5 separate regions of the Homo sapiens genome follow, and all the other regions are linked to region 4. Evidence: promoter capture Hi-C in 16 types of primary human blood cells and fetal thymus (Javierre and others, 2016). All regions are on one chromosome and are shown on one strand. The core of a region is centred on a gene start or on the middle of the fragment in contact, and the rest is flanking DNA. Distances in the headings are between cores, read along the strand shown. Region 1 holds the start of GPATCH1 (G-patch domain containing 1). Region 2 overlaps CHST8 (carbohydrate sulfotransferase 8). Region 3 overlaps GPATCH1 (G-patch domain containing 1). Region 4 holds the start of CEBPG (CCAAT enhancer binding protein gamma). Region 5 has its middle 21 kb from the start of KCTD15.

What was found. The method cuts DNA at HindIII sites, captures the fragments that hold promoters and counts their contacts. A CHiCAGO score of 5 or more calls a contact.
Region 1: the fragment with the promoter of GPATCH1 here is called in contact with the fragment with the promoter of CEBPG in region 4 in 5 of 17 cell types (neutrophils, activated CD4 T cells, naive CD8 T cells and 2 more); the score reaches 12.3 in neutrophils.
Region 2: a contact is called between a fragment that was not itself captured here and the fragment with the promoter of CEBPG in region 4, in 2 of 17 cell types (M2 macrophages and endothelial precursors). The highest score is 6.6, in M2 macrophages.
Region 3: a fragment that was not itself captured here is called in contact with the fragment with the promoter of CEBPG in region 4 in 1 of 17 cell types (neutrophils); the score reaches 7.6 in neutrophils.
Region 5: a contact is called between a fragment that was not itself captured here and the fragment with the promoter of CEBPG in region 4, in 1 of 17 cell types (monocytes). The highest score is 6.4, in monocytes.

The regions. Positions count from the first base shown.
Region 1 is chr19:33,079,835-33,082,534 of GRCh38, forward strand. GPATCH1 (G-patch domain containing 1) reads left to right here and starts at 1,347. Exons shown (of 20, transcript NM_018025.3): 1 at 1,347-1,432. The coding sequence starts at 1,360. RefSeq lists an enhancer at 1,242-1,571. The HindIII fragment of the contact is 10,253 bases long and covers 1-2,700 here.
Region 2 is chr19:33,768,175-33,770,874 of GRCh38, forward strand. All of the region lies in intron 3 of CHST8 (carbohydrate sulfotransferase 8), which reads left to right. Among named protein-coding and RNA genes, the nearest start is that of KCTD15, 27 kb to the right of the region's middle. The HindIII fragment of the contact is 755 bases long and covers 896-1,650 here.
Region 3 is chr19:33,111,739-33,114,438 of GRCh38, forward strand. GPATCH1 (G-patch domain containing 1) reads left to right here. Exons shown (of 20, transcript NM_018025.3): 12 at 1-164; 13 at 748-875; 14 at 2,029-2,165; 15 at 2,515-2,681. Among named protein-coding and RNA genes, the nearest start is that of WDR88, 19 kb to the right of the region's middle. The HindIII fragment of the contact is 1,130 bases long and covers 833-1,962 here.
Region 4 is chr19:33,372,395-33,375,094 of GRCh38, forward strand. It overlaps CEBPG (CCAAT enhancer binding protein gamma), which reads left to right and starts at 1,315. Exons shown (of 2, transcript NM_001806.4): 1 at 1,315-1,501. RefSeq lists a silencer at 1,102-1,911. The HindIII fragment of the contact is 8,186 bases long and covers 1-2,700 here.
Region 5 is chr19:33,816,422-33,819,121 of GRCh38, forward strand. No RefSeq gene overlaps it. Among named protein-coding and RNA genes, the nearest start is that of KCTD15, 21 kb to the left of the region's middle. The HindIII fragment of the contact is 3,637 bases long and covers 1-2,700 here.

The DNA of each region.
Region 1 (2,700 bases), core at 97-2,596, 290 kb before region 4:
AGGTGCCAGGCGCAGTGGCTCACGCCTGTAATACCAGCATTTTGGGAGGCCGAGGCGGGTGGATCACTTGAGGTCAGGAGTTCAAGACCAGCCTGGCCAACATGGTGAAACCCAGTCTCTACTAAAAATACAAAAAAAAAAAAAAAAAAAAAAAAAAATGGCCGGGTGCGGTGGCTCACATCTGTAATCCCAGCACTTTGGGAGGCCAAGGTGGATGGATCGCCTGAGGTGGGGAGTTCGAGACCAGCCTGACCAACATGGACAAACCCCGTCTCTACTAAAAAAAAAATTACAAAATTAGCCAGACATAGTGGTGCATGCCTGTAATCCCACCTACTAGGGAGGCTGAGGCAGGAGAATCGCTTGAACCCGGGAGGCGGAGGTTGAGGTGAGCCGAGATCGTGCCATTGCACTCCAGCCTGGGCAACAAGAGTGAAACTCTGTCTCAAGAAAAAAAAAAAAAAAACCACCACAACAACCAACCAACCAAACAAACAAAAATTTAGCAGGGCGTGGTGGGGTGGACGCTTATAATCCCAGCTATCAGGAGGCTGAGGCAGGAGAATCACTTGAATCTGGGAGGCGGAGGTTGCAGTGAGCTGAGATCGCGGCCACTGCACTCCAGCCTGGGCGACAGAGCGAGACTCTGTCTCAAAAAAAAAAAAAAAAAAAAAGGGAATAACACCAGGGCCTACTTGAGGGTGGACCTACTTGAGGGTGGAAGGTACGAGGAGGGTGAGGATCGGAAAAACTACCTATTGGGTACTATGCTTATTACCTGGGGAGGAAATAATCTGTAACCCAAATCCCTTGCGACATGCAATTTACCTATATAACAAACTTGCACATGTACCCCTGAACCCAAAATAAAAGTAAAAAATAATAATAATAAAAATAAAGCGAAGCCCCACGGGGCGAGCATGAAATCTGGGAGCTCAGCCATTTCCCTGGAGGTGGCTGGGTGGGCGGTGGGAGTGGACGGGGCTGGGCAGTGACTGCTGCCAAGGCAGGGGGCTGGCGCGAGGGACGGGGGTAGGGGGCTGGGCAGGCATCGGTGTCGCCTCGCAGGGAACAGTTGGGTGGCTTCCAGCTTATGCCAGGAGTCTCCTCCTCACCCGCACATCGCGGGGCTAGGATGGGATGTCGTGGCTGCCAAATCCTCCGAGGCAACTCCTGCCTGGGACGGCCTACCACAGGATGGGCCTGAGAATCCGGAGCGCAGGCTCGGGCCGCTAGGACACCTTCCCCCGCCCGCGGACCCAGCCTTCCAGCATCACCGGGGTTCGCGGAGGAGAAAGAGGAAAGGCGTTTGGCCTGCCAAGGCCGCCGTAGCGAGGGGGCGGGGCCCGGAAGAGCAGGATGGCGGCGCGGGACAGTGACAGCGAAGAAGATCTGGTCAGCTATGGGACCGGGCTGGAGCCTCTGGAAGAAGGTGCGGGCCGCGTGGGCCGGCGGAGCCTGTGGAAAACAGGCCAAGGGCCCAGGATTCGGGCCACAAAAGCACAAGTCGGTGCTGGACCATTGTTAGATCGTTCCCAGCGCTGGGAACACGGCGACGAGGGAGGCGTTAGCCGCGCTCTCGGGGTGCTCACCTTCTGCAGCGACAGAGAGAGGTTTACAGGGACGGGAGACACAAGCGTGGCCGAACAAGGGGGCGGCGAGATAGAAACAAGAAAATGACGGAATAGCTAGTGTGAGAGCGGGGGGTGCTCAGGCAGTGTCTTCCCCGAGAGAGGACGTTTGAGCTCAGACTTGAAACCGAGGAAGAAAACAACCATGAGCAAATCTGGAGGGAAAGCATTTCAGGCAGAAGGAACATAAAGTGGCAAAGGCCCTGAAGTGGGAGCCAGTTTAGGAAATTGAGGGGCAGGCAGGACGGGTATGGTTGCAGCAGATGACAGCGGGGGAGACAGGTAGAAAAGAATGTCAGAGGGGCTGACAGGGGCTGGATCTTACTTGGTAGGGTAAAGAGTTTGGATCTTGTACTAAGTGCAGGATTAGGGTTAGGGTTAGGGTCATGGGAAATTACACAGGGAGGGATATATATATGATTTTTAGAGACAGGGTTTTGCTCTGTTTCCCAGGCTGGTCTTGAACTCCTGACTTCAAGTGATCCTCTCGCTTCTGCCTCCCAAAGTGCAGGGATTACAGGCTTGAGCCACTGTGCTCGGCCAATTTTTAATGTTATTCTATCTTTGATGTTGAGAATACACTGGTTGGGGATGGGTAAGAGTGAAGCAGGGAGATTAGCAAAAAGAGGTCAGGAGATGATGGTGGCATGGATGGGACAGCAGTGGTGGTGGTGTGTAGTGGTCTGGGTGGAGATATATTTTGAAAGCAGAGCTGACCATACTTGCTGGTGGAATGTGGGGGTGAGGGGCAAGATGAATCAAGGTTCTCTCCTGTGTTTCTGGTCTGTTCCACTTAACGACTTGACTTGTTCAGCAAGTTATGTATTGAGTGTCCAGTAAGGGCTGTTGGCTGTGCTAGCCCTGTAGGGAAGGCAGAGGAAGAATGGTGGAATCATTGGGCCACAATTTATTTGCAGACCTCCTGTTGGTGGGGGTCCCCTCCCTTTTTTCACCCTGACCACATCCTGCCAGGTTGATTGTACTTCTGGGATATCTCCACTTATGCCCCCTTTATTTCCTACAAACAGTTCTGGTGGAAACTTCTGCTGGATACTGGCCCTTCTTCTAC
Region 2 (2,700 bases), core at 23-2,522, 400 kb after region 4:
CTGACTGGTGCATGGAAGAGCAGTTTTCTTCCTAGTGGGGACACTAGGTTCACGGCAAAGGGGAGGTCCCTTTAGATTTCCTTCATTACGTTTCTTCTTTATTCGAAAGTGAACTTGTAGCCAGGTATGGTGGCTCGCACCTATAATTCCAGCCCTTTGGGAGGCCGAGGCAGGAGGATTTCTTGAGGCCAGGTGTTTGAGACCAGCCTGGACAACATAGCAAGACCCCATCTCTAACTATTTCTAAAATAAATGTAAATTTTTTTTCTTTTTCTTTATTTTATTTTATTTTTTTGAGACAAAGTCTCACTCTGTTGCTCAGGCTGTAGTGCAGTGGTGTGATCTCAGCTCACTGCAATCTCTGCCTCCTGGGTTCAAGTAATTTTCATGTCTCAGCCTACTGAGTAGCTGGGATAACAGGCATGCACCACCACACCCAGCTAATTTTTTTGTATTTTTAGTAGAGATCGGGTTTCACTATATTGGCCAGGCTAGTCTCGAACTCCCGGACTCAAGTGATCAGCCCATCTCAGCCTCCCAAGTGCTGGGATGACAGGCATGAGCCACCGTGCCCGGCAGTAAATTTTTAAAAATGTTAAAGTGAGCTTGTGGGGATAGGTCTAATCTTTGCCTGATAAGCTGCCGTAAGTCTAAGGGTTGGGAATAGCTTATGGCAAACTCAGGCTCTACTTAAGATGTTACTGATCTCTCTTACTCTCCACAAGGCAATTTTTCCTTTCAAAGGAGGAAGTTGCAGGCAGGTTGGCTTTATGGACACATGTAAACAGGAAATCAGGAGACTCGCCCAGCCCCAGGCTTTGTCTAGAAGGAACTTTTCCTCTAGTTAATGCCAAGGGCTCTAGCTCAGCGAGCATTAGAGTGGGACAGCCCCAGAAGCTTAGGCTCAGAGTCCAGAGGTCCAGGAGACAGTGTCCCCCTGTCCAGTCCTCACAGGTAAAATGGAACAGGACCACAGCCCACTGCCCTCCGAGGCTGTGGGGACAGTGCCAGTGGGAGGTCATGGCCTCAGGGGCTGCAACCTCAACAAGCACATGGCCTTCCATCTTCCCCCCGACTGGCAGGATCCCTTTTGGAAGTGGCTTCTCAGCCCCACTCTTGGCCAAATCTGGCATGACTCATTTGCTTTAGAAAAGGAATATATAAGCACCGTCACACCTTGATGAGATGACAGGAGTGACAAGCAGAGTGATTTCCCATATCTGAGACTCTGAGGAGGAGAGGTGGTTTAGCAGAGCCAGCTGCCATAACCAGAAGAAAATAATTAAGGAAATCTGGCAGAGTAGAGGAAAACCAAGTGGTGCAGCGGGTCCCTTCTAGTGAAGGGAGCTGTCATCATCGGCTGCGGGAGAGAAAGGAGCTCTGGAGGCTCGTGCTGGGACAGCTGCAGTAATGATGGGATGGGGAAGAGGAGGGGGTGGCTGTCAAGGAGGGAAATAGACTCTGGGCATGGCAGGGGGTGGCAATGAGCAGCTTGATTCTAAAGACTCCTCTCTCAGGCCAGGCACCTGCTACTTACACCCCACACCCTGAAGGGTGCAGCCAGGTCTACTTGGAGCTTCCCCTCAGTCTCCAGGGAAGAGTCTAGAAGGCCTGTTTCAAAGATCCCCCACATGCACGCATGTGCACATAAGCTTGGGAGTGCCCAGGAAGATGGGGACACTCTGCCCTTTGCCCAGGGGAGAGCATACCCTTGTTCCCAGCCCAAAGGGACAAGCGGAAGAAAGATGAAATGTGTCCCAGTTCTGCCTGCATTTCTGCCTCTCTTGGGACTTGAGGAAGGTTCGGGCAAGCTCAGGGAATTCAGGCTGTCCATTCCAGGGCTGACCTTGCATCTCCTTCCTGGCCTGCTAATGACTGAAGGAGACGTGCGGGCACGGCCTCAGCCTTACATTGTCTGGGGCATGGCAGTGGCTGAGTCTGTAAAACTGGACCTCATGGAGAAATCCACAGAATCTCTGGCTCAGGGAAGACCTGGAGATCCCTTCACCAGCTGGGCTCCTGCCACTGGACCTCTGCCCAGGACGTGGAGACAGCCAGGAAAGTGGTGGGACACTGGAACCCCCCTCCCGCAGGCAGCAGCCAGGATTTGCTCAGGTGTGGTCGGGCATGGTGCCCCGGCGCGCCAGCCAGAAGATCCAGCTCTCTCCTTAAGGGATAGCTGGCTCTGATGGTGACCATGGCTTTTGGCAGAGCCTCAGGACGAAAATGTCCACCCACATGGTACTGGAGCAGAAAGAGCCCCTGATTCCTCGGTGGCCAGGTAGGGACTGGGGAAGGAGGCTCCAGCTTCTAAATAGATTCCCCCCAAAGGGAATCTCCTTGTCCTCCTGCGACTTTCCCCCAAAGCAGACCAAATGAGGTATGACACAGAATATTCTGCTCTGGCCAAAGGTTCACCTCACCAGAGCTTGCTTCTTAGGTGAGCCCAGCCCAGGCATGGGCCTCCTTGGTAGGCAGAGGGGGCGTTCCAGAGCATGGCCATTGATGCACTGGTCTCTCTGTGTCTTCCTGAGGTCATCAGTAAGTTAACGCTGGACAATTACCCTCTACCTGGGCGCTGCTTAGGGCTTTGGGGGAGACCAGGGCGAGCAAGATATGCTTAGCTCACCCCAGAACTCCAGAGCCAGCTGAGAAGGCCAAGATCACAAAGCAAATGCCCAGGTTAGGGAACTTCCTGTA
Region 3 (2,700 bases), core at 148-2,647, 260 kb before region 4:
GTCTGGACCCCAGCATGACAGAGTGGGAGCGAGGCCGTGAGCGGGATGAGTTTGCCCGGGCGGCCCTGCTGTACGCATCTTCCCATTCGACCTTGTCCTCCAGGTTCACTCACGCCAAGGAGGAGGATGACTCAGATCAGGTTGAAGTCCCTCGAGACCAAGAGGTCTGTTGTCACCATGTCCCTTACCTGGTGAACTTTAATATTAAAGCACTGCCTAGCCAAAATAGTTTTTTCCTTTTTTTTGAGACGGAGTCTCTCTCTGTCGCCCAGGCTAGAGTGCAGTGGTGTGATCTCGGCTCACTGCAGCCTCCGCTTCCTGGGTTCAAGCGATTCTCCTGCCTCAGCCTTCCAAGTAGCTGGGATTACAGGCGCTCGCCACAACAGCCATCTAATTTTTGTATTTTTAGTAGAGATGGGGTTTCACCATATTGGCCAGGCTGGTCTTGAACTCCTGACCTCAGGTGATCCACCCGCCTCGGCCTCTCAAAGTACTAGGATTACAGGCATGAGCCACCATGCCCGGCCGAGCCAAATATTTTTAATCCCTTGGTGAGAAGATCAAAATATACATGTATAGGAGAATAGGAAACCATTTTATGCCTTAGTTTCCAATGTACTGGAGCATAAATGTTATAGCACAAACTTTTTTCACAGTTCTAGAAGATTGCTTGAAAATTTTAAATGGGAGAGCAGTCAGGTCAGTGGTGCGGCCACTTGATGGAACAGAATGCATGTCTTTTTCCAGAATGATGTCGGGGATAAGCAGTCGGCTGTGAAGATGAAGATGTTTGGGAAGCTCACCCGAGACACGTTTGAGTGGCACCCTGACAAGCTTCTATGTAAGAGATTTAATGTCCCTGACCCTTATCCAGAGTAAGTTGGATAAACCTTTACATCAGTACAAAATGTATTCTTGATATTAAAGCTAATTTTCCCCTTACATACTCATATAAATTCTTATTTTTTCTACATGAACTTATTTGCATATCACTGGATATACAAATCTACACATTTTATAGATTTGCTTTGATAAATTACTTCTATAATTTGTTACTAAAACAAAATCTGGATAGCAAACTTTATTCCATATTGAAGCTATGAAACTCAGATATGTCAAGTTACAAAAGCATTATGCCTCTCTCATTTGCCACCTTCTTGTTGCTGCTCATGTGGTTTACATTTATAATGTTACTTATGTTTTTAAATTATCATTATAAAAGTTAAACACTTTCTTATTTGATTAATAACACTTCAAGAGGTGGGGTGTGGTGGTGCACACTTGTAATCCTAGCTTGGGAGGCCAAGGCAGGAGGATCGCTTGAGCCCAGGAGTTCGAGGCCAGCCCGGGTAACATAGTAAGACCCCATCTCTAAAAAATCAAACAAACAAACAAACAAACAGAACACTTCAAGATAGTAGGCCGGGTGCAATGGCTCACGCCTGTAATCCCTGTATTTTGGGAGACTGAGGCAGGCAGATCACTTGAGGTCAGGAGTTCAAGACCAGCCTGACCAACATGGTGAAACCCCGTCTCTACTAAAAATACAAAAAATTAGCTGGGCGTGGTGGTGCGTGCCTATAGTCCCAGCTATTTGGGAGGCTGATGCAGGAGAATTGCTTGAACCTGGGAGGCGGAGGTTGCAGTGAGCCAAGATTGTGCCATTGCACTCTAGCCTGGGTGACAAGGCGAGACTCAATCTCAAGAGAAAAAAAAACAAAACAAAAAGATAGCATATGTGGTCAAACCAGAGACTGTCAGAAACTTTAGGTATATTTTTATCAGTGGAGCTTTTCCTTAATGGAAATCCATTTTGAAAGTTAAATTCTTGTCCTTATCATAATAAGGAAAATCTCATGGGACCTAAAATCAGTCACCCAGATTCTCGAACTGCTTTGAGAAGTGAAAGCATCTTAGGAGACTTTTTAGTCATGCAGAAGAGGTGGAAAACTTGAGATGGAAAGCTTTTCAGGAGGTGGATTTTGTCCTACTGGTTGTTACTAAAATGATTCTTTTTTCAATTCCCAGTTCAACTTTAGTTGGCTTACCAAGAGTGAAGCGTGACAAGTACTCAGTCTTCAACTTTCTGACGCTCCCAGAGACAGCTTCCTTGCCCACCACTCAAGCATCAAGTGAAAAAGTATCACAGCACCGAGGTCCCGACAGTGAGTAGGGCGTCCCCGGGGTCTCTGATTGACCAGGGCCTCAACCCCTAGCCTGTAGGAAGACAGAATTAAAGGGTAGTTTAGTCCTAACAATGTGAATGGTGCATATTCTCCCTCCATTGAGGGAATTACTCTTACTAATAACTTAGCTCATGTTGTAATGGTCCAGATGTTTACTCTTTGGGGTTGGGGCTCTGTCTCTGCCTCTGCCACCTACCTCCCCAGGACCCTACACAGTGCCAGGCCCCTAGTAGGCACGCTGACATTCTGAGTGAATGAAAGAGCAGTGGTGAAGAACTGGCCTTTTCCTTGCTAATGCTGGAGTTTATATCTATGTCCTGCCTTTCAGAATCAAGAAAACCATCCAGATGGGATACCTCTAAACACGAAAAGAAAGAAGATTCCATTAGTGAATTTTTAAGTTTGGCTAGATCAAAAGCCGAGCCACCTAAACAACAGTCCAGCCCCTTAGTAAACAAAGAGGAAGAGCATGCACCAGAATTATCCGCAAATCAGGTATTTGGGGCTTCCAGAT
Region 4 (2,700 bases), core at 65-2,564:
TATTTATTGCTTTATCATCTTACTGATTCCTCGAAACAATCTTACGGGGCGAGCCGGTTCCATGGGCGCTGAAGAAACATTTCCTCTTTCAAAGCCTCAATTGTTTGAACGATACGCGTTGCTAAAGAGGAAGCAATTAAACCTATCAGGCGAGTTCTGCCCTCCGCCCAGCGAGCTGCTGCTTCCTGGTGTTAAAACGCTTTCGGGGCCAGGCGCGGTGGCTCACGCCTGTAATCCCAGCACTTTGGGAGGCCGAGGCGGGCGGATCACGAGGTCAGAAGATCGAGACCATCCCGGCTAAAACGGTGAAACCCCGTCTCTACTAAAAAAATACAAAAAATTAGCCGGGCGTAGTGGCGGGCGCCTGTAGTCCCAGCTACTTGGGAGGCTGAGGCAGGAGAATGGCGTGAACCCGGGAGGCGGAGCTTGCAGTGAGCCGAGATTGCGCCACTGCACTCCAGCCTGGGCGACAGAGCGAGACTCCGTCTCAAAAAAAAAAAAAAAAAAAACGCTTTCGGGTTCTCCTGGCGAGTTTTAAGTCACACTGGATCGCTGCTTATTTTCAGAGATCACCTCGCACCCATGCACCTGGAAGGCACCCAAAGAGAATCATTTTAAGAAATTCACTTCATCTCACCCTAACAACAAAGCACAGCCTGCAGCACATGGATTTCACCCATGTGACATCAATGCTAATCCTATGTGTGAAACATCTGGGTTCATTCGATTTTTTAAAAATTAGTAACTGAGATGGGGTCTCGCTATGTTGTCCAGGCTGGTTCTCCAACGCCTGGGCTCAAGCCATTCTCCCGCCTCGGCCTCCCTCGGCGCTGAGATTATAGGCGGGAGCCACCGCGTCAGCCTCCACTCTTTTTGCGGCGACAAAGCCCGCCCGCCTGCGGGGCGTTCCGTTCGCAGAAACTCTGTGAGGGACGCCGCGGGGGCTTCCAAGGGACGCGGCGAAACCAAAACAGTCGCCGGTGGTTCACAAAACCACCTCAGAAAATGCTTCCAAAGGCACGTCTGGCCTCCACAAGGTGACGGCTTTTCAGCCTCCGACTCGAACTTGAGTCGTCCACAGCACTAGGCCGCCGCCAGCCCGGGCGAGCTGCCTAGGGACCGCGGACGCCGCAGCAAGCAGCTCCCTGCTCCCGCCACACCCGCCGAGCCAGCCGCGCGGAACCCACTCCCCCACCGTGGGCCCGCCTCCCGCCGCCAGCCTGCCCACGATTGGTCGACTGGGCTGCCCGTCGCGAGAGAAGGCGGTGCCTCCGGCAGGCCGGCGCTCCCATTGGCCGGGATGGCGGCGGCGGCGCGCGCGGCCCCGGCGAGCAGGGGAAGCCGGTGGCCGCGGCTGCGGAACGGGCGGAGGCTGCCGGTTTCGTAACCGTCGCTCCTCCTCGCTGACTCGCGGGCTGTGAGGCCTGGGTCGGCTCGGGCCGCACCGCGCGGGGCCGCTCGGAGTGGAGGCCGCCTGGGGGCAGGCGGGCTAGAGGAGCAGGTAAGGAGGCTGCGGCGGGCGCCCTGAGAACGGGGAGGAGGAGGCCGCGGCGACGCCGGCCGCTCGACTGGGTGCGGGCCCGGCTCGGGGAAACCCAGCCCCGGCCCCAGACGGCCCGCTGGCCCGGGAAGGCCACGCGAGGCTGGAGGCGCGGGCGGCGGCGCCGCGCGGCGTCTGATGCAACCTGCCGGCAACACCCGGCGGGGACGCTGAGCTCATTCCTGGCCGCGGCCCAGCGCTGCGGCGCCGCCCGTCGACCCCCGCGCTGCCCGGGGCGCCCCTCGCGGCGGGCCGGGAGCGCGCGAACGGCCGGGGAATGCCCCCTGCGGAGCCCGGCCCCCTCTCGGTGAAACGGGCGCTGTGACCCGCCAGGCTCGCATTGGCCCCTGGGGATGAAGGGTGTTCCCAGAATAGCAGAAGGTGGACCGAGTCGAGCTTTAGAATCCTGATCTTCTAGAAGGGCTCAGCTTGCGGTGATCGAAAATCTGTTCAGAAGTTCAAAGACTGATCAATAAAATAGGGAAAGCAACTGGTTTTTAAATGCATGACTTTGCAGAGATAATATTTTGCTTCTTTGTGGAGCTGTTGGAATGTCCTGCACTTTACTGTTGAACGTAGTTTAGAAGAACACGCAACACCTACGGGTCGAATAGAGAAGAAATGAAGCACTTCGCAGGCATAGTTGGAGGGAGCGGAGCAGGGCCGACAGCCAGCGGAGGTGACCAGATGCGAAGGATGGAAATGCATGTGTCGCGGGGGGAGGAGAGTGTTTTCCAGGGCAGCTGGTGTGTTGCTTCTCTTCCGCAGGTTTACGTGTTGGGTTTTCCTCTTGTTTGAAGTTTATACTGTAATCTGGCATCCTGAAATGTATAAGATTTAGAAAGGTCTCAATGTTGATGGGTGACACCAAAATTGGTAGTTGTGTCAGAATTGACTGCTTATATGAATAGGTTGTCACTTAAGGCAGACTTCTCCCAAAGAAATGTGACTCCCAGAGAAAATTTTAAAAGAAAATCCTATAAGGGCTTGCTTTACGAAGACATTCTACACCTAGAAGCTCTTGATATTTAAGATGTGGTCATCTGTTAGCCCTTGAGTAGTATTTGGGATAAGCTGTTCATAAGGTCGATTCTGCTTCTGGAAAAAGTTGCTGTAAACAAGGCTAAATAATTACAGGGTACAAGGGAGCTGAAGCATAT
Region 5 (2,700 bases), core at 53-2,552, 440 kb after region 4:
TCAAAATAAATAAAATTAAAAAGAGAAAGCATGGCTGGGTGTGGTGGCTCACACCTGTAATGCCAGCACTTTGGGGCCAAGGTGGGTGGATCCCCTGAGGTCATGAGTTCAAGACCAGCCTGGCCAACATGGCAAAACCCCGTCTCTACTAAAAATACAAAAAAAAAAGGATTAGCTGGGTGTGCTGGCATGTGCCTGTAGTCCCAGCTACTCGGGAGGCTGGGGCACGAGAATCGCTTGAACCCGGGAGGCAGAAGTCGCAGTGAGCCGAGATCGCACCACTGCACTCTAGCCTGGCGACAGAGCGAGGCTCCATCTTAAAATAAAAAAATAATTAATTAAAAAAAAAGGGAAGCACAGATGTGAGAAATGGGGAAACTATATCCATTGAGCCACTGACCAAGATAATATTTAACTTGACTAAGCCTAGCAGAGCCTGCCCACTTCCCCTCCCTAGAGGCCAACCCATGTTCTCGAGGCAATGCTGTCTGCCAAGATGGCCCCATCCCATCAAGCCCTGCCTTCCCTCCTGATTCTCCAGAGACAGGAAAATGGCTGCATTGGCCCTGGAAGATACTCAATTTCTCCTAAGTAGATGACAAGGTGGAAAATACAAAAATGGGAAACTGCCAGGGGATATTCAGTTGGAGGCAGGAAATCTGCCTCAGTTCAAAACAATAGGGAGGTCTAGACAGAGCTAGAGGGACAACTGATGGCCAGAGAAGGCAGCCGCTGGCCTGGATGGAGTCTGACATCTGGGCTGATGTAGCTGTTGTAGGAAGTAGGATGTCACAGGTTGATGGCCATCTCAAGGGGGGTAGGCAATGTGTTTAGCCACAAGGCTCAAGTCAGCCAAGTAATATTGGTCTTGTCACATGTGTGATGAGAATGTGGGTGGCTCTCTTTGCTCACCCCAACCCCGCCCAAAGGAGGAGTTTCCTTGTAGAGAGAGGGCTTGCCCTCACCTGGAGATCAGGGGCTGGCAGCTGTCTTATCTCTGATGGAAGATTTGATGTGGAGTTACCTGCACTGAAGAGTCTGGGTCACTGTATAGGGTAAAAGCCCACATCGTTAACTGCCACAAATTTTAAAATTTTCTACAAATGGATTTGCTTAGAATGAATGGTAAGAAAAGGGTCAGGTGCAGTGGCACACACCTGTAATCCCAGCACTTTGGGAGGCCAAGGTGGGTGGATCATTTTAGGTCAGGAGTTCGAGACCAGCCTGGCCAACATGGTGAAACCCTGTCTCTACTAAAAATACAAAAATTAGCCAGGCATGGCGGTGCGTGCCTGTAGTTCCAGCTACTCGGGAGCCTGAGGCAGGAGAATCGCTTGAACCTGGGAGGCAGAGGTTGCAGTGAGCCGAAGTCTCACCACTGCACTCCAGCCTGGGTGACAGAGTGAGACTCCTTCTCAAAAACAGGAAAAAAAAATGGTAAGAATAGAAAGATGATATTAATGCATATGTGTCAAAAGCAGCTCCTGCCTTTATTAGTGAGAAGTTTCTCATTAGATCAAATGAAGTTTCTTGTCAGTATCCAGAGAAACCTACAAAGGCATCACAAAGATAAAGCTCTAACGTCCAACATAAAGCCCGAGACAAAAGATGGTCTAGAGCACCTGCTTGGAGGAAGGTCTATCCAGGAACAACTGTATTTAGGTTAAACTGCTAAATTCACCAACTAGGGCAGAGAGGCACAGAAACATTCCCTCCAGAACCCCTTTCCATTAAGAGTTCACTCCTGTCACCACATTCTAGGCAGCCCCGATGTTCTCTGGAGGACCGGTGAGGTAAGGTAATGCTTTGTGGACTAACAGAAAGAAAAAAGTGTTGGTGACAGCTAAGGGCAGCTTCCTGCCAGCACCAAGACTAGCGCTGATGTTCTCTTAGAAGCACCAGAGTTTTCTAAGGTGACCCAAATGGAACACAACCCCAGGGAAGGTTGAAAGTCAGAAAAGAAGAGCGCGTCTCTGCTCTTTCTGGATCTCACAACCAGCGAGTTCTCGCAGCCATGGCCTCTGTAAGCCCAGGGACATTTCTCTGTGAGCTTTCATTGGAAGGGAAACCCCAGCCCCAGAGAAGCCTACCCCGCCACATCCCAGGCTAATCCCTGGATCTGGTTCAGGAGCTCTCTTCCTGCAAGCCCCAAAGCTAGACAAGCAGAGCCCTGCCAGGCCCATGGTGACCTCTGCAGACCTAGGAACTGCAGGCAGAGTTGGGGGCTCGTTCCTGGGGAGGGGCCCACCCCTGAGGTTGTGCATCCAGGAGGGGCCCACCCCTGAGGTTGTGCATCCAGGCATGACTGACTGTTGGTAGCTGTTTACCCTCAGGGAAAGAGAACTTTCTGTGTTTTTATCTCCACCCCCAGTGGAAGGATATGTTGAGTAGAGTTTTTGCTTTTTGAGGAAAAGTCATGATTTGGAAAGGGGCGCTGATGTATCTGTTGAGGCTTTGGATGTTGATTTTTAAAGGGTCCCTGCTTCCCTGCAAAGATCCTTATCTTCACAACCACCCAAGAGCACCACTTATTGGTGGCCAGCATATGCCAAGCACTGCAGGTGCTTGGGAGGGCAAGATAGCTCATGAGGCTTGGAGCAGACATTTGTTTATGCACAGGAATTGTTCACTTTTTTTCTTCTCCTTTTTTTTTTTTTTTGTGAGACAGGGTCTCACTCCGTTGCCCAGGCTGGAGTGCAG